Linked DNA regions of Homo sapiens: all the other regions are linked to region 1. The links are contacts of gene promoters, found by promoter capture Hi-C in blood cells and fetal thymus (Javierre and others, 2016). All regions are on one chromosome and are shown on one strand. The core of a region is centred on a gene start or on the middle of the fragment in contact, and the rest is flanking DNA. Distances in the headings are between cores, read along the strand shown.

Region 1 (2,752 bases), core at 154-2,653:
GATCAAGATGGATCCTCTCATCCTTCCCCTTACTGAGCAGAAGTGTCTGACCCTCTGGCCTTCTATGAACCATTGGGACCCACACACAACATGTCAGATCCAAAGAGCACTGGCCTCCGAACATGGAAGTAGGTGGGCAACTGAAGGAAAGGTGAATAGTGAGAACAGGGGAGGGGAGGACAAACGGAAGAAGGGAAGGGCCGGGAGATAAGACATTGACATGTGCAGTGAGCTTAGCTGGGCATGGTGGTGTGAGACTGTAGTCACAACTCCTTGGGAGGCTGAGAGGAGAGGGTCGCTTGAGCCCAGGAGTTCACATCTATCCTGGGCAACATAACGAGACCCTATCTTTTAGAGAGAGAGAGAGAGAGAGACCAGAAGTCCTGGACATAGCCAGGCTGTGGGCAGCCCACGGATGAGGTGAGATGTCAATGTGATCACCCCTGGAAGTGAGAAGGAAGGTACGGTGGGGTTATTGAATACACTGTGTCATTCAATTACTGTCATCGTTTGGATTTTATATGGGATGGGGGCTGGGAATTCCTGGTCTACTTGTGCTGGAGAGATGTTTAGGCTTTCTCAGATGGTTAATAGAGGGCACCAGCAGTTGTTTGGTGGCATTGGAGGAGCAGCTTTTTGTATCCCAAATGACCCTTTTCAGATAAAATTGAAGCTGGATTGAGACTTCGGGAGGATAAGTATAAAGTTGTAAGTGGGTGGGATAGAGAACAGCCATGCGAATGTCAAATCTCCTGTCTTTTCACTCCTGTCTTAGGCCGAATGTGAGGTGCCCCGTTCTTTCCTTTGGTGGAGCCTTTGAAGATTTTTCTTTTCTTTAAAGCTCACTTAGCAGTTAAAGACTTGAGATGGGCTGTAAAGCTGTGAAAAGCCTGGGAGGAAATGGTGTTGACATGAAGGGGTAAAGCCAAGCTTGGAGGGGTGCCAGTGGCAGGGACCCACACTAATTCCTCTTGTTCTTATGCCCTTCTAAATATGTCTCTGAAGCACAGGAGAACATTCCTAGGGAAAAACAACGTCCACTCACCTCATTCCAAGAAAATCTGTAACAACGTCCAATTGTCTTTGAGAGGAAAGAAGATGACATTGGGAGACACAGCATCTAGAGGAAAAGCGAGAACCACTGGTCTTCCTTTCAGACTTCACAGTGGGATCTTGGCGCCTCGGATAAACAAAGGCACTGGCAGGAAGGAAAGCGAAAATCAGAGGAGAGGTCTGGCAGGCCACAGCCAGAGCAGAGGCAGTGGGTGAGAAAACCCTGGGTTTGAGGACCCTGGTTCTCTTCCCTAACAGCCTTTGGGTCCCTCTTTCTGAAACAAGGCTTGAGAGCATGTCCTCTGGCCTGGGGGACTTGGGTGAGTCTGAGGCACCCCAGGTAGCAACGATGGCAGGTTTTGCACTTGAGCTGGGGAGAAAGCCAGTGGTGCTGAAAGCAATGGAGATTGAGGTACAGAGATCTTCCTGCCGAACCCATTCCCAGGCTTTCTGCCTTTCTAGGAATGGAGAGAGAGAGAGAATGCCTTGGCTGGTTTCCTGAAATCCAGTTCATGGAGCCACAGCCCCAGTGAGTGCTCACTCAAGAAACAAAGGCTCAAGAGAGGACAGGCACCAGCTAGGAAACTCCACTCCGAAAGGGATCAGCTGTTGCACTCACAGGCACACTGCTTTGGTCCAGGAAGTCAGTAAAAGGCAAACAGGATCCCAGCGAGGTCATTTGTTTTGGAGAAGACAGAGGGAGGAGGAGGGAGGGGCAGCCGTGTGAACGTGCAGTTATGTCAGGGCCTCCCCAGATCCCTGGAACGTCCTGCCTGAGCACAACAGGGAAAACCTCCCCCTGCTCACTAGCCCTCGGGAAGTACAGTTCTCACTGAATGTCTGTCAGCATAATTAAAAAATGAACACCCTTCCAATCGCAAGATCAACGCCAAGGGTTACCTTCCTGGGGAGCTGTCCAGGGGGAGCATGGTTTCCTAAGAAAACTTTTGTGATCTGTGTAGAATATTTTTGCCCCTATTTTTTTTTTTTTCTTCTGAGACAAGATCTGGCTTTGTTTCTATCAGGACATGTTTGGATGTTCTTCCAGAAAGTCTACTGGTAAGAGAGCTCAGTTGGTCTTCTAGGAGAGATAATTGTTGACATATCAGGGGCCAAAGGCTCATCTCTTCATTCCCTGCACTTGGGGAAGAGGTGGCATCATTTCACCCTTAGAGCACAGGATAAATATTATGATTATTCAAGCAAAAAGACATTCTACTGGCTACTTTTGATTTAGCATTACAGTTTCTAATTTATCCCAAAGATGCACTGACAGAAATGGAAAGATGTATTCACAAGGCCACCTATCACAGCACAATTTGTGTATTAGAAAAAACTCAAATGTCCATCAATAGGGGACCCTCAACTATGGTACATTCACACAATGCAGTAGTACACAGCTGTAAAAAAAAGAAGAAGAATATCTCTACATGCAAGTATGAAAAGATTTCCAAAATATATAGTTGATAAATATTAAGATATAATCGTTAAAACTCAAAACAAAATGAAAAAAGTCAAACCTAACTAGATATTGAGTTGGTGGCACATCCTCTTGGGAGAAAGTATTTCAAGTGACATTAAAACCTGGGAATTGACTGTAGACCTCAAGTGGGATATACCCTTAGAACAAAAGGAACTGCAAAAACACACACACACACACACACACAGACACAAACTTCAAATGTTTCCAGTAATTACA
Region 2 (2,752 bases), core at 97-2,596, 840 kb after region 1:
CATGAGTTTTGTGCTTGAATTTACATAAGTAGGCTGAGAAATTAACACAAAAATGTAGTTCTAACCACACTAAGTATTGGTGATAATATGAAAGGACTGGAATTCTCTTACACTGCTAGTGGGAATGTAGAATAGTACAACCACTTTAAAAACTAATTTGCAGTTTAGTGAAAACTTAAATGCCTGCCATATCATCTAGGCATTCCACTCCTAGGTATATATCCAAGAGCAATAAAACATAAAGGCACATTCACATGAAGGCTTGTACATAAATATTCACAGCAATTTTATATGTAAGAGCCTCAAACTGGAAAAAAATGCAAATATCCATCAACAGGTTAATGCATACGTAAATTGAAATACATCCATTCAATGGATCATTCATTCACTATCACACAGAAAATAAAGGAATAAACTATTGATACAGACCACAACATGGATGATTATAAAAATCTATTTGCTAAATGAAAGAAACTATACAAAAGTAATGCATATGATATGATGTCATGTGTATAAAATTCTAAAAAGTGTAAACTAAATCCAGAAATAGAAATCACACTGGTAATTGCCTGGGGCAGGGGTAAAAGGAGGGATGGGATGGAAAGTAGTACAATTAAACTTTAGGAATAATAAAAATGATCATCTTAATTGTCTTAAAGCATTCACAGGTGTTTAGAGATGTCAAAACTAGATACAATTGTATACTCTAAACAACTTAAATTTATTATACCATAATCAAATTAAGTAAATAAACAGACAAATAAATAAATGTTTGGGGAAATGTAAGCCTTAGGAACCTAATTTGCATCAATCATTTAAAGTAGGTTACATTCACAAAAGATTAAAAATAGGGCTACCATACGATGCATCAATCCCACTGCTGGGTATATATACAAAAGAAAGGAAATCATTATATCAAAGGGATAGCTACACTCCCATGTTTGTTGCAGCTTTGTTCACAATAGCCAAAATTTGGAAGCAACCTAAGTATCCACCAACAGATGAATGGATAAATAATATGTGGCACAAATACATAATGGAGTACTATTGAGATATAAAAAAAGAATGAGATTCAGCCGTTTGCAACAACACAGATGGAACTGGAGGTCATTATGTTAAGTAAAATAAGCCAGGTACAGAAAGACAAACATCACATGTTCTCACTTATTCATGGGATCTAAAAATGAAGACAGTTGAACTCATGGAGAAAGAGGGCAGAAGGATGGTTACCAGAGGGTGAGAAGAGTATTGGGTTGTGTTGGCAGGGAGATGGGGATGTTTAATGAGTACAAAAAAATATTAGAATAAATGAATAAGTCCTAGTATTTAATAGCATGACAGAGTGACTGTCATCAATAATAATTTAATTGTACATTTTCAAATAATTAACAGAATATAATTGGATTATTTGGAACACAAAGGATAAATGCTGGAGAGGATGGATACCCCATTTTCCATGTTGTGATTATTATGTATTGCATGCCTGTACCAAAATATCTCACATACCTCATAAATGTATACACCTAATATGTACCCCCAACAAACTAAAAAGAAAAATTATAAAAAACAAACAAAATATAAGTTACATTCATAAAACATATTGCTAATTTAAGAATTGCTACTAAAGCTGGATAAATAGTTGTCACATAAAACTTGAAAAGGTAATTTAAACTTCATGGCAAAAAGAAAATATAAAAAATAGACAAAGGAGAATAAAATATGTATTGAGAGGTGTTTTTCCTGCAAAAATCAATATTTATTTTTAAGTTATCTTAATTAAACCACTTACTAGATATTATAGAGCAAGACAAATAAAGCAATGTAACAATGTCCTAAAACACACCCATCCAGGTGGAACAGATGTATATCAGATTTATGTATAGACTATATATAGCTGGCCCTTCTTATTCGTGGGCTCTGCATCCATAAATTCAACCAAATGTGGGTAGAAATATTTGAAAAATACTGTGTCTGTAATGAATGTGTACAGTCTTTATTTTCTTCTTGTTATATCTAAATGATATTGTAGAACAACTATTTACATAGTATTTACATTGCATTAGGCATTGTAAGTAATCTAGAGATGATTTAAAGTATATAGAAGGATGTGCATAGGCTATATGCGAATACGCCATTTTATTTTATATCAGGGACTTGAGAGTCTGCATATTTTGTCATCTGTAGGAGGTTTTGGAACCAATCCTCCATGGATATCAAGGGACAACTGACCCAAATACATATATGCACATACATACACACACAACACACGTGTGCACACACAAACACACAGCCAATGTCTCCTGCCCCAGTAAAGATATAACAAGGGATTATTACTCAGAAAATATAATTAACATCTACAAATGAATAAGCAAACGGCAAAGAAGTGAATGAAAATAAAATAAACATGGGAGCAATTTACAAAAGAAGAAATCTACATGGCCAATAAATGTGAAAAGTTGCTTAATTTTGTAAGCAATCATAGAAATTCAATTTAAAACAAAAATTAGGTGCATGAGACTGATGAAATTTTTTGGAAATATCACAAAACTGCATGCTGGCAAAGAATTGTCATGTTTATGGTAGCAGAGTAAATTGATACAACCTCTATGGGAAGCAACTTAACAATATCTAGTAAAATTAAGATTTGTATGTCTTAAAATCCAGAAATTCTATTTCTAGGGATATATGCTATAGAAACTTTTAAATGTATGCCTGATAAAACACACTTTTTTCAGCATTATTTGTAATAGCA
Region 3 (2,752 bases), core at 123-2,622, 820 kb after region 1:
TTATTCAGCCTTAAATAATAGTCTTTAAAACTGGTGGTCTTTTTGTATTCTAAAAATTTACAAGTTACAGTAAAAAATCTTTTTCAAAAATTTGCAAGCTAAACTTATTTTTATTTCTTGATATCGCATGTTATCTTTATTTAAGTTGTCCATGCCTGATCAGGCTTCACAAATTCTCTGTTAACCATTCAAGAAAGGTGGTTATTTAAATATTACTGAGCGACAGCAGTGCCACATGCTTGGTAGGTACTTTGCCAACAATTTTATACTTAGTCTTTGTTTTTCTTGAGGACCCTGTGCTATAACATCAGATGTTATTAATTTTAATTTATAACACATTAACCTGCTTATCCTGCCTCTAAAGTGACACAGCGTTAAAAGTGCATTTCTGAGGCTATTCTTAAGAATTTGAATATAATTATTACAGCTATCTCACATTCTATAAGAGTTTCAATATCACCTATTTTCAAACTAAGTTACTATATTGTTTAAAAGATATAGATTATCCTCCAGCCCCTGACTTACATGAGAAGACATCTATAGATATATACAATGTGTTTGTTTATAAAGAAAAATTAACATTTTCACCTAAGAAATATTAAAAAAATAAAATCTATCTTATTTTTAATATTTAAAACTTTTTAGACCATCAAGTTATAATTATTCTATAAAAATCTGAGAAAGGTTTTGCTAGTAAAAGTATATTGGAGCATAACAACAGGAAATAAAATGATTCTACCTCACCTGCTGATAAAACTTTGCTTTGTGTATATTATTAATAGGAATAGGTCTTTTTCACTGTAAAGTGATGTAATTGGCGTACCCTGAGAGATCTGATCGAAAATCCTCAACCAAACCCACATTGTGCTTTCACAGAGGGTGTTCTGGAGGATCCATCACAGACATTTTAACAAATTCACAATATTTTTGTTTTATGTAATTGGTGACTTACATAAGTGATTATATTGTACCTTTTATTAATACATTGACCAATAAAATAATTAGAGGCTACTTTTAGCGCATCTTACCTGGCCGTGCTGAAGAATACATTGTCAGTCATTCCAATTTCTCTTCCTTCCTTCCTTCCTTCTTCTCTCTCTTCCCTCCCTTCCTTCCTTCCTTCTTCTCTCTCTCTTTCTGAATAAACATAACATATACATATATATATAAGCAAAAAAGATACTAAATCAACTATCTAAGAACATTCATGTTAATGGGATTTTTAAGTATAAATTTAAACTGAGATTCATTTTTTATATTAAAATAACACTCAATAATTTTTGTCTGTTCAAATTCTGGTTTAAGAAACAATCAAATATCTTTTCTGTATTGAGTCAGCATCCTACGAAGTTTTGAAGCAACACAGAGTTTATTTTGTATTCAGTGTACTTTATATTTGAAAATGAACTCCAAACTATGTTTATATGCATGTGGTAGGAAAGGATAATATTAAAAAATTGGATTAATCCATAATTTCTTAACAACCGATCTAACAGTATTGGTACCAGGAAAGGATTCTGCTGCTAGCAAAGCATCTAGTGAGTTGTTAGCACAATGAAGTGTGTCCACACTTAATAATGCCAAGGCATATTGATAGGAATATCTTCAGCAAAATATTAAAAGAGTGCATTTGGTTAATGAACAAGAAATTTATTTGTGCACACTCTCAAACTTAACCTTCATATTGTGCCCTTAAAGTGACACAAGCATTAAAAGTGCATTTCTGAGGTTATTCTTAATAATTTGAACATAATTGTTACAGCTATCTCACATTCTAAAAGAGTTTTCAATATCAATTATTTTCAAACTAAGGTACTATATTGTTTAAAAGATATAGATTATCCTCCATCCCCTGACTTACATGAAAAGACATATGTAGATATATGAAATGTGTTTCATATATCTACAAACTTTTTTTAAATTTTGTTTGTGGCATGTGGTTGGATATTTATGGAAAGAATTAATTCTAATCACCAAAAGGACTTTCAAACCTAATGACATTCAACTTAAAACAGAATAATGACAAAGTTTCTCATGTAAACTCAAGAAAAGTTTGTCCTGTCATCCCGAAATTATCATAATGGAATTTCATTTTACCTTTTAAAATCTCACTCTGTAACTCACGGGTTAATGCCAAAAAGTTTTCGCTTTGTTTTGTTTTGAATTTTCATTTATGTGAATTGCTGAAGTTTGCGAAATTCAGAAGGAAATCTCTGCAGTACAGATTTTGTTAAAAGATTTCCAGTATTTCCTGCATCTGTTGGGTGGAAATGGTACCCAATGTCACTTTTACAACTACTTCAGTGAAAAACAGAGGTGGAGAGAATCTAAGTTTAAAACAATGGAGAAAAAATGTTGGTTATTTTTAAAGTTAACAAATGTGTTTCAAGCCTAGTTCCTGCAAAAGTTGAAATATTGGTTATTTCTTATCCTATCTGAATTCTTTTAGTCCCTTATCCCTAAGTTGAAAGTAACTTCAAGGAGGTAATTTTAATTTCTCATTACATGTGCATTCACATGCCCTCTCTTAGTTTCTAGCAATTTCAGCTTCCAGGTACTATTAATTTTTCTATTAGTCTATAAACCATAGTTAATTAAGAAAAAAATCCTGTTTTATTGTATTACATTACAAAGCCATTGTCATTTCAAATAATTTTTAAATGCAAATACTTGGAACTAGAAATTAATATGGATAGGTTCATAAATATTTTCTAAACCTTTTAAACATCGTAATAGCAATAGGAAGAACACT
Region 4 (2,752 bases), core at 80-2,579, 770 kb after region 1:
CTAACTCATTATTTCTTTCATCCTATATACTTAAGTAACTTTAGGTACAAAAACAATTGGTCTTAAATGGTCTCACATCTGTGAAGCTATGTCTCATTCAATACAGTAATAAAATTGAAGCTGTTTTTCCACTGCCAACTATCTGCTTGAGTTGGGGCCTCCTGAATCTTATAAATGATTTGTTCCTCTTGTGACATTTATTGTTAGAGACATACTCTCTTTTCACCTTTGCTGAAAAGTGCTGTGTTGGCAGGCAGTGTTTCGGGAGTGCAGACTGTACTTTCCTTTCCAGCTCACAACAGACAGAGGAAAGGAACGTGTCTTCCTGCAGCCCATGCGGCCCTCCTGGTAGGCGCTCTCCACAGCTTCAAGGCTGGCCACCTGGGCCGGCAGCCCGGTTCAATAGCTGGATATCCTGTTCTGCTTTTCTGCTGTTGAGCTGTCCAGGATGATCGCCTGGGAAGTGAATTGTGACTTTCCAGGGTTTTAAGCTTGCCAAGATTAGTTAGGAAAACACAGTTTGGGGTTATACAAATTCCACATCTTCTGGCACTCTTGTTGCCTGAAATTTGAGAGAAGGAAAAAGTATTTGTGGGAGTTGTGAACCTAAGTGTGTTCAAAAGCTAGGGGTTTTTGTTGAAAATATTTAAATTCTCAGAATATATTTTTATATGCAAGCCAAGGTATACTACTGACATTTTAAGAAAATGGTCCCATTAAAATGTACGGTCTGCTGCCCCTGTGCCTCATGGATGAACATGTGGAGATTGTTCTTGCAGTATGGCATGACAAATACTGAGGGTGAAAGTTAAAAGACATCTTTCAGGCTTGCTTGAATATTGAGTGCATTTAAATTTTAGAGGAATAGTCTTAATCTGGAATTTTCTTGATGTTCTAGGAGAAACAAAACAAAACAAAACAAAAACAGGAGAAAGTTTGTTCATATGCCTCCTCACGGGCAATCCTGGTATTTCACACACAGGTTCTACTGAGGAAATTTTTTTTTTTTTTTTTGAGACAGAGTCTCGCTCTGTCGCCCCGGCTGGAGGGCAGTGGTGCGATCTTGGCTCACTGCAACCTCTGCCTCCGGGGTTCAAATGATTCTCCTGCCTTAGCCTCCTGAGTAGCTGGGATTACAGGCACCTGCCACCATGCCCAGCCTCCCAAAGTGCTGGGATTACAGACATGAGCCACCGCATCCAACCTGGTGACATGATGAGTTTTGTTATTCATACCATATTAACATCGAGCAAATGTCACCTTTGCTAATGTTGCTGTTCTTAATCTATTTCCTTTCATTAAAGAAACTTTAATGAAGGAAAGACTTGGAAACTATTTAAATCCATGGTTAACCATATTGGTAGAAGAAATTGAACACACATGTACATAAAACACCCACACATGTATATGCTTATTATAACTAAAGATTGAATGTTAACTAACATTAACCCTCACCATAAATGAATCTCCAATCTGCTCTTTGTTTTGCTTTCACTGAAAAGAGAAGACAGCTCTGTTAACAACAGAGAAAGGAAGACCACAGCTGTGCATAAAATCAAAATATGAATAATGATATTTATTTTCAACTAGACTTTGAACATCCACACTCTGAGTTTTGGATGCTTATTGCTTTAACAGGAAAGATAAGTCCTTTTATAAACTACTGCAATCACAGAAACTTACAGATAATGGTAGCAGAATGGAGAACTTGTTATAGGAATAATATAAGACATGTTTTTCTGATATATGTGCACACGAATGTGTGCCTGTTTGTACACATACACATTTAGGAAACAGTTTCTCACAATTCAGATGGAGCTTTTAGTAAACCTCATGCATAATTTGAATGACAGGATATAAAAATTCATTTTTGGCAAGAGCATCTTAGAAGTTTATATTATACACAACTTTTCAAAAGATACACTAAAGGTTGATCTGAAAATTAAATTTTGTTTCCAATGTATTACAATCTCAGTGCAGTTTCAAGTTGAACTATGTGAAAATATTGTAAAAATAAATTACTTTAGAAAACATTTAGTCTGTTCAGTCTTTCACATTAAAATGGTAACTTTAGTGTAAAAAAAAATGGAGGCCAATATTCCAGTCCTAGAAATAATTTTTTGAAGTTTGATGTTAGTAAATAACCATTGTTCCTCTTCAAGCTTGTGAAATGTTAAACACTTTGTTCTCTACTTAATTTTACCTTTCATATTCTAAAACTAGGATTGGCAAAGTGAACCGCAATGTTTCAATGAAGATTTGGTTATATAACTCACATGTAAAAATGCAGACTTCCAAATTAATACCATCCTTTAGTGAATGCTTGGTTTCTTGATGAATTTGATTTTTATATACCTCTTAGAATATCAGTCATTCTGATTCTGACTTGGCACGGCAAAAGGTGAAATAGTGATCCAGAAGAGCAGGAAAGTCCTCCCATAAATATCCTCCAAGAGCATCTCCTTGAAATTGCTTGGTACAGAATCATAACACATGGCTGCAGGGCGTGGGTCACAGGTGGTAAAAAAGGGTGATGTGTTTTCTGTATTCAGTGATAAATTCGTTTTCTTTCTTTCTCTCACTCTCAAGATGCTTGTGCAAATGATTTTAGAATCATGAAGCTGTATACAATGCTATGCATTCTGATTATTGTAAGCTCTGACATCTGACATCAATGATTTAACTTTTTTATAAAATGATATACTCATTTTTCCAACAGATTCAAGTCAATTGCATAAGCATACATCTTCAA
Region 5 (2,752 bases), core at 174-2,673, 720 kb after region 1:
TTCTGAATTTTAAAGCTCTTTTCTTGTGCTGTCCGATAGGAGATGCCAATATTATGAGGCACTAGCATGCAAGTGTGGAGGGTCCACTTTTTGTAGGGTAGCCCATGGCTGCTAGGAGAGGTATTTTGTAGCATGTGTGGACTTGGTTTTTGTGGCGTGAAGAGAATGGGTATAACACTGATAACTTGCCAAGAGAAGCCTATTTTATGGTGCTTTTGTGATAAGTACAATGGTGCCATCTATTTGTGACTGATATTTTTTAATGGAGTTGACTGTTCCTGAGTGGTCCGAGGACAAAAAGAATAATGTAGCTGGGCATCATTTGCACATTTATTTACATGTCAGGGCTTTTGTTCAAATTGTGACTGAAGTCTATTTGTAGAGTCAGGCATAACAAAGTAAACCTCATTGAGATTCACTTCAGGACATATCCAAACAAACAACATCTTCATTCTGAGCCCATCCAAATGTCTGTAATTTGGTAAATTACTCATTCTATTTGAATGCATTAGTCATCATTTATGAATGCCAGTGAAATTGAATGGACTTCCCTCAAAGCTCTATAGAACTTTTCCATCGTGCTGCAAATGCCTGTTTTTAATTTTTTTCAAGACATATTTTTTGTTACATTTTAAATTTCTGGCTCATATGCCAAATAAGCATCCAAAAAAATAAAGAATCATGTCGAAATAGCTAAATGGGTCTTTGTAAAATGACTTTTTTTCTTTAGATTTAAGTAGATTAAGGTCACATCACAGTATGTGAAAATGCATAAACCTTTGTAATCTTCAGGTTTAATCTTTACTATGAAGTACTTTGGGAATGTTAGTAATCTTCAACATAAACAGCTGTCAGAGGGAATCAAATAGGAAGTGTTTTAAGGAAGACAATGCCTCAAGTGCTAACCCCCTTGAAATTTTTTTTTTTTTTTTTGGAGTGATGAAAGCTTTTTCTTGAGTATATTGGTTAATAGCCAAGAAAGATGGGGAACCTTGAACAGAAAGACCATACAGAAATTTTCTGATGCTTTGACATTTTACGTTTTCTTTAAAATCAAATGGCTCTAGTAACACAGCAAAAAGGGGAATATGACATTTTGACATTCATCAGGTATCTGTGGTACTTTTAAGTTATATCGATTAAACTTTCCTATCCCAACAATTTTTTTATCTGCTTATGGAAGCTATCAGTCTTTATAATGTATTGCAAATGCGTGATGAAGACTGAAGATAAAGAAAAGCTGACCCTTGAACTTCTGAGTGTATTTATGTAATTTCCTAAATTTTGAGTAATCTTGGCAAAAGAGATGTCCTGAGTTCTTTTTTACATTTATTTAAGGCAATGGTATCTATAAACTATTATTGCTCAAATGTCTAGGATTCTTTTAAATGTAAAAAGGAGTGGTTCTTCTTAGGAAAGGATGATTTTAACTATCTTTGAAAATTTCATAAATCAAGAGCAGATTTGTAAAATAAAGTGTTAACAAGTGGTTACAGGTTTAGTTTTCCAAAGATAAACTTTTGTCCTTCTTATTTTGTGTCCCAGAACCTTCCCTATTCTCTCCATTGTCAATGCTGGTTTTTCTAAGAGGAAAAAGCTGACTATTCGTTTAGAATCTCTGTGCAAGATTTCTTGTTAGATTGATCCATTATATTTCAGCTGTGTACATGCTGCCCACCTTCTCCATGCATTCCTTGTATTTTAAATCCTACAGGGCTTTCTTTCAATACAGGAGATATGTCTCCCTTTTAGTTATTTAGACTTGAGGATGATTTGATTCATGAGGATGTATATACTTTGTGTTTTTAAGTGTGTGTGTGCAGCAAATATTTATCAGTGTGCCGTATTTCATCTTGAAATTGAAAGACTAGATCATTCTTGGAAGGGATATTAAGCTTCCTTATGCAAGCATTTTTGCACGCTAATGCTTCAAGGCCCAGAAAGAAAAGGGAATGAATAAAGTGGTTGTGGGCAAGTGGCTAGAGAGCACTTGCCTTGGCTTAGGGCACCAGTATCTATTCAGCTGCAGTCAACTGCAGCCACGCAAGAACAGTCCCAGTGTTGTTCAACTATCCAGGTTTACAAGAGTAGTCAGAAACTTGGATTTTCATTTGAAATTTCAAAATATTTAAATGCTAGTAATTAATTTTAATTAAACACTGTGTGAGCTAAACAAAATAAGTTTATGGGTGCTCAGTGTGCCAGTTCTGTAAAACAGAAGTTATAGCTAAAAAAGAAAATGCCATACCATAGTTTACTTACCAACTTTACTTAATAGCTATGTAAAATGTTTAGAAAAGAAACATAAATGTAATATGCATACTTAGATAACATGTTTGTTAGAAATATCTTGGGTAAGGGAAGAAATTTTCTTTCCATCTACCCATGCCATTGATGAGTCTCTGGTTCAGAAAACTGATTCCATTCAATACCACCTACTTCCCCATCCCAGCTCCCATTAATACAAGTATAGGGACTTAACATTTCCTCAATGCCCACCTCCTTGCTTGCTGTTCAGGGAAATACACATTTTGGTTTATGGATGTCCTGGGGTGCTGTAAGAGTCAAGGAAGTTATTGAAGGACATTTTTAGATAATAGACAGCATCAATCATGCTGGGCACATACTGAGGAAAGTGATGACAAAGAAGGGACCTATCTGCCCAACAAGAGCAGGACCTTGGAAAGAATGGTTCTCTGTCTCTTTGGCCTTAATGTACAAGGAAAAAATGAGAGCTGGAAAGTTTACACAT
Region 6 (2,752 bases), core at 172-2,671, 620 kb after region 1:
GAAAAAGAAAATAAGATGGAAAATTAAAAGATTTTAAAATTAATAAGAGAGAAAACATAAGACATCAAAGTATGTGGGGGAAACCTAAAGCAATCCTTGAATTTTATAGATTTAGATACTTGTCATGCTCATGTTGGAAAAGAAGATAGATCCAAAAATCAGTGACCTAAGTTTCCACTTCAAGAAACTAGAAGAACAACAAATTAAACCCAAATTTAATTTTTAAAAATAAATAAAAGGATAAGAGCAGAAATTAGTAAAATAGAAAGTAAACAAATAATGAATAATAAAAATACAATCAACATCTAGTTACTTTGAAAGATCAATAATGTTTGTTGTTGTTGTTGTTTTTACCTTAAGTTCTGGGATACATGTGCCGAATGTGCAGGTTTGTTACATAGGTACATGTGTGCCATGGTGGTTTGCTGCACCTATTGACCCATTCTCTAAGTTCCCTCCCGTCACCCTCCATCCCCCAACAGGCCCTGGTGTGTGTTGTTCCTCTTCCTGTATCCATGTGTTCTCATTGTTCAACTCCCATTTATGAGTGAGAACATGCAGTGTTAGGTTTTCTGTTTCTGTGTTAGTTTGCTGAGAATGATGGCTTCCAGCTTCATCTGTGTCCCTGCAAAGGACATGATCTCTTTCCTTTTTATGGCTGTGTAGTATCTCATTGTGTATATATACCACATTTTCCAGTCTATCACTGATGGACATTTGGGTTGGTTCCATGACTTTGCTATTGTAAATGGTGCTTCACTAAACATATGTGTGCATGTGTCTTTACAGCAGAATGATTTATATTCCTTTGGGTATATACCCAGTAATGGGATTGCTGGGTCAAATGGTATTTCTGATTCCACATCCTTGAGGAATCTCCATACTGTCTTCCACAATGGTTGAACTAATTTACATTCTCACCAACAGTGTAAAAGCTTTCCTATTTCTCCACACCCTCACAACATCTGTTGTTACTTGACCTCTAATAATCACCATTCTGACTGGCATGAGATGATATTTCATTGTGGTTTTGATTTTCATTTCTCTAATGATTAGTGATGTTGAGTTTTTTTCATATGTTTGTTGGCCACATAAATGTCTGAAAGATCAGTAATGTTGACAAATATCTAGCTCAACTCAGAGAGACAGAGAGAGGGGATATATAAATTACCAAGATCAGGTATGAAAGAAGGGACATACATATTAATTTTCCATATATTTAAAGAATGATAAATACTATGAATAACTTTATGCTGATAAGTTTGACAGCTTATGTGAAATTAACAAATGCCTTTAAAGACACAAAATTACAAAAGTTATTTAAAAATAGAAAACTGAATAGTGTTTACCAACTAAACATTTTCAATTTCGTTTTAAAAATCTTTCCCGAAGAACATCCCAGGAACAGATAATCTTACTGCTGAATTTTATCTAATATTAAAGGAAAAAACAACTGAACAACTGAAATTCTATATATTTTTTTAAATAAAAGGATAATACTTCCTAACTCTTTATCTGAGGCTAGCATTTCTCTTATACCAAGGTCAGACCTGCACATTATAAGAAAGCAAGCAACAAATTAATATTCCTCAGGAATGCAGAGAAAAAGTCTTTGATAGTAACAAATCCAGCAACATTTAAAAATAATAAATTGTGACAAAGTCTAGTTAATCCCTAGATTATAAGGTTGGTTTAGCATTTAAAAATCACTCAGTAATTAATCAATTAACAAAGTAAAGGGGAAAACCATGATTATCTTTATAGATGCAGAAAAGGACATCTGACAACATTCAATACTCATTCACGATAAAAATTTATGAACAAGTTAGGAATAAAATGTAGTTTTCTCACCCTGATAAAGGGTACTTTAAAAATGTCAGCTAACATACATAATGATGAAAGCTTGAATGCTTTCTCCCCCCAAATTGGGACCAAGTAAAAGGATATCTGGCCTTACCACTTCCATATAACACGTTGCTTGCTTTCCTAGCCATAACAACAAAAGAAGTAAAATAAAAGACATACCGATTGGAAAGGAAAGAGTAACATTTTCTGTACTAACAGACAACATGGCCACATATAAACAAAATCCTAAGGAACCTACAAAAAACCTGCTGAAATTAGTAAGGGAATTTAGCAAAATCTTAGAATACAAGGTCAATAAACCAAACATAAAAATCAATTGAACTCATAAATATTTGCATTGAACCACTGAAAAATAAATTTTAAAATATTTCATTATTAATAACATCAAAAACATGAGATATTTAGTGATTAGTTTAATAAAGTGGGGGACAAACCTGTACACTGAAAACTACAAAAGATTACTGAGAGAAATTAATGAAAACCTAAATAAATGAAAAGATATAACATGTTCATCACTTAAGAGGACTCAATGTTGAGATGTTAATTTTCCCTAAACTCATCTATAGAATTAATATGATTGCAATCAAACTCCAGCAGACTTTTTTTTTTAAAAGAAATTGACAAACTGTTTCAAAAATTTATTTGGAACTGCATTGTTAATAGTTTTGCTACATGGTTTTCCTGATGTTTCCTGCACATGCCAAAGAACTGCTCCCCATCCTCAATTAGGTATTAACCAGGCAGGAATCCTCTATGGAATTAATCCATGTGAATAGTGAAAGAGATTCACAAAGATGCCAAATATATTTACATTTCATAATGAGATAAATTGGTGGAATTTTAAGAATGTGACAGACTGACTTAAAAATTTTGGTGGTATGCATAT
Region 7 (2,752 bases), core at 164-2,663, 580 kb after region 1:
TTTTTTCCCATTCTGTAGGTTGTCTGTTTACTATGTTGATAGTTTCTTTTGCTGTGCAGATGCAGAAGCTCGTAAGTTTAATTAGATCCCACTTGTTAATTTTTGCTTTTCTTACGATTGCTTTTGGGGTCTTTTTCATGAAATCTTTGCCCATGCCTATGTCCAGGATAGTATTACCTAGGTTGTCTTCCAGAGTTTTTATAGTTTTGGGTTTTACATTTAAGTCTTTAATCCATCTTGAATTTATTTTTGTATATGGTATAAGGAAGGGGTCCAGCTTCAATCATCTGCATATGACTAGCCAGTTATCCCAGCACCATTTATTGAATAGGGAGTCTTTTCCCCATTGCTTGTTTTTGTCAGCTTTGTCAAAGATGAGATGGTTGTAGATGGCAGCCTTATTCCTGGGCTCTCTATTCTGTTCTATTGGCTTGACTTTGTTTTAGTTATTTCTCTTTTTTTGAGGTAATACCTAGGTCCACAAGTTTCCCTTTGAGTGTTTCTTTATTGTTTCCCATAGTTCTGTTATGTAGTGTTTTACTTATCATGTTTCCTAAAAGTGCTGAGATTTTGGTTTATATTTTTTCTGAGAAAAATTTTTTCAATGTCCAGGTGAAAGGGCCTTTTGGTTTTCAGTTTTTGTTATTTGTGTCTTTTTGTGTGCATTGTAATTGAGGAATATTGTCTATACTATTTATCCTTTTATAAATTATTGATGTTTTCATATGTTCTGATTTTTATTCATTTTGTAATTGTTTCATGGACTCTTAAAAAAACATTCTCCATTTTCAGGATGGTGTTTGAATTTTATCAATAAGATAAACTACTTCAATTATGCAATTTAGGTTTTCTATAAATATTCTTATATTTTGTTAAGGTGATTGCTAGAGACTTAAAAGCAGGTGAACTAAAGACCTCTTCTATTAGTTTTTAAAAATCTATTCTCTATTTTTTCCCGAAATTTGTTTCATGAATATTGATGATATATTACTTGGTGGAATGTCATATCTCCACCTTAAATTATACTCTTCAGCATTATAAAGTGCCATTATTTACCTTGTTAATTCTTTTTTGGCTTACATTCTACTATTAAGATTTTAATCCTTGCATCTTTAGTTCTCAGTTGTCAAAGTTTGTCTATTCTTTTGTTTTTCACCTTTCTAAATCACTTTGTTTTAGGTATATTTCTTTCTAATTACTTAAATGGACACACCTTCTTGATTCTACTAACAAATAAATAATAAGTCAATTATAAGTACAATTTGTTTTTAATGGAAATATACACCAAAATGCCTCACTTCTCTGCCCCAGATGTTGTATGTGTGATACAGTGCTTCTAAAACCTTATCATGCATTGGAATTATCTGGGGGCATGTTAAAACACAGATTGCTGGGCCCCACCGCTAGAGTTTCTGATTCAGTAGGACCGGGGCAGGTCTAAGAAGTTCGCAGGTGTTGCTAATGTTGCTGTTACGAGGATCAGATTTGGAGAACCACTGGTACGATAAAGTGGAAAGACTAATCCTATTGATCTATGCCAAATTCAAAGACACTTTTGCTCTTCAAAACATCAGTAACTCGAGGAAATAAGAGTCAGAGTTAATTTTGATAATATCTACTTTGATAAGAGGAACAGAGCCAAAAAAATAATAAGGAAGGGGTGTGTTTTTGATAACCTCCAAGTTTTTTATTTTAAGAGCTTACAGTCTTCTTGTTTCTGAGGGTCTTTAGCTCAACTGGATTATAGATGTTATACTGGCAGGCAGGGCCAGTTTCATGGCCATGGGACCTGTGAAGTCACACTTGGTTTAATGCTCTTCTGTCTCTGTCTTACAATTCTTAGTATCTGAACAAGAGGTCCTCACATTTTTGTTTTGCACTGGACCTCACAGATAATGTAGAAATGTCCTTTTAACAGCAACTGTATTTCACTGACATATTCCCAGTGCCTGGAAGACTGCCTGGCATGTATAAGGTGCTAGACAAATATCTGTTCATTGGATGGATGAATACTGTACCCATGGTCTCCTAAGAAATTGGATAAATTATTTAGATATAGAACTGTGGTTCTTAAACTTTAATACATATAAAAATCTTCTAGGCTAATTTAGTTTTGTTAAAGTACAGATTCTAGGCCCCAGCCCCAAGGATCCAAAATTTAGGTGGTATGAAGTGAGGCCTGATAAAGTTGTATTTTAAAATAATTATCTTCCATAATATAGATGCTGACAGTCTTTGATCCGCAGTTAAAGGAAAACCCATATTGAAACAGAACTAAATGACTTTAATCTTGGTGACCTCACCTGGTGGTTTGCACCTACCTTTCACCTCTGGGGTAAGGACAGGAGCACATTCATCTAGCTTACTCTTCCTTGTCCTCCAAAATTCAGCTCAGTAATTATTTTATCAATAAAATTTTTCTTGACATTGTATTTCCTACTTCCCTCAGTTATTCTTTGTCTCTGTTTCAATCGTGTAGTGGACATTCATCTTTTATTATGCCTCTCAGCAGTTTTTTCCCCTTCTGGCTGTAACTGTACCCTGAATTTCATCTGGGTACCATCTTTTCCCTCTTTCCCAGTTGCGGTGCTCTAAGCAGAGTTGGTTGCTCCCCTGAATCAGAGTCCAAACATGGCTATGTTTGGTCAATTAGAGCATCGCATTCCCCTCATCATGGCAATTTGTTAAAGATGAGCAAATGGCCCAATCAGAACTAATGAAAAGTAATAACATTTTATTGGAAGTTCACGAA

Evidence for each region. The method cuts DNA at HindIII sites, captures the fragments that hold promoters and counts their contacts. A CHiCAGO score of 5 or more calls a contact.
Region 2: a contact is called between a fragment that was not itself captured here and the fragment with the promoter of LINC02880 in region 1, in 1 of 17 cell types (neutrophils). The highest score is 7.6, in neutrophils.
Region 3: a contact is called between a fragment that was not itself captured here and the fragment with the promoter of LINC02880 in region 1, in 1 of 17 cell types (neutrophils). The highest score is 5.2, in neutrophils.
Region 4: a fragment that was not itself captured here is called in contact with the fragment with the promoter of LINC02880 in region 1 in 2 of 17 cell types (endothelial precursors and neutrophils); the score reaches 5.7 in endothelial precursors.
Region 5: a fragment that was not itself captured here is called in contact with the fragment with the promoter of LINC02880 in region 1 in 1 of 17 cell types (endothelial precursors); the score reaches 5.5 in endothelial precursors.
Region 6: a contact is called between a fragment that was not itself captured here and the fragment with the promoter of LINC02880 in region 1, in 2 of 17 cell types (neutrophils and M0 macrophages). The highest score is 8.2, in neutrophils.
Region 7: a contact is called between a fragment that was not itself captured here and the fragment with the promoter of LINC02880 in region 1, in 2 of 17 cell types (neutrophils and monocytes). The highest score is 6.3, in neutrophils.

Annotation. Positions count from the first base shown.
Region 1 is chr6:113,903,038-113,905,789 of GRCh38, reverse strand. LINC02880 (long intergenic non-protein coding RNA 2880) reads right to left here and starts at 1,403. Exons shown (of 4, transcript NR_027060.1): 1 at 1,046-1,403. The HindIII fragment of the contact is 3,143 bases long and covers 933-2,752 here.
Region 2 is chr6:113,061,842-113,064,593 of GRCh38, reverse strand. The region is part of intron 2 of LOC107986636 (a long non-coding RNA gene); the gene reads right to left. Among named protein-coding and RNA genes, the nearest start is that of LINC02518, 370 kb to the left of the region's middle. The HindIII fragment of the contact is 4,715 bases long and covers 1-2,752 here.
Region 3 is chr6:113,078,489-113,081,240 of GRCh38, reverse strand. No RefSeq gene overlaps it. Among named protein-coding and RNA genes, the nearest start is that of LINC02518, 350 kb to the left of the region's middle. The HindIII fragment of the contact is 7,020 bases long and covers 1-2,752 here.
Region 4 is chr6:113,135,270-113,138,021 of GRCh38, reverse strand. No RefSeq gene overlaps it. Among named protein-coding and RNA genes, the nearest start is that of LINC02518, 300 kb to the left of the region's middle. The HindIII fragment of the contact is 1,671 bases long and covers 494-2,164 here.
Region 5 is chr6:113,180,601-113,183,352 of GRCh38, reverse strand. All of the region lies in intron 1 of LOC105377955 (a long non-coding RNA gene), which reads left to right. All of the region lies in intron 5 of LOC105377953 (a long non-coding RNA gene), which reads right to left. Among named protein-coding and RNA genes, the nearest start is that of LINC02518, 250 kb to the left of the region's middle. The HindIII fragment of the contact is 949 bases long and covers 949-1,897 here.
Region 6 is chr6:113,281,653-113,284,404 of GRCh38, reverse strand. No RefSeq gene overlaps it. Among named protein-coding and RNA genes, the nearest start is that of LINC02518, 150 kb to the left of the region's middle. The HindIII fragment of the contact is 967 bases long and covers 938-1,904 here.
Region 7 is chr6:113,322,481-113,325,232 of GRCh38, reverse strand. No RefSeq gene overlaps it. Among named protein-coding and RNA genes, the nearest start is that of LINC02518, 110 kb to the left of the region's middle. The HindIII fragment of the contact is 9,773 bases long and covers 1-2,752 here.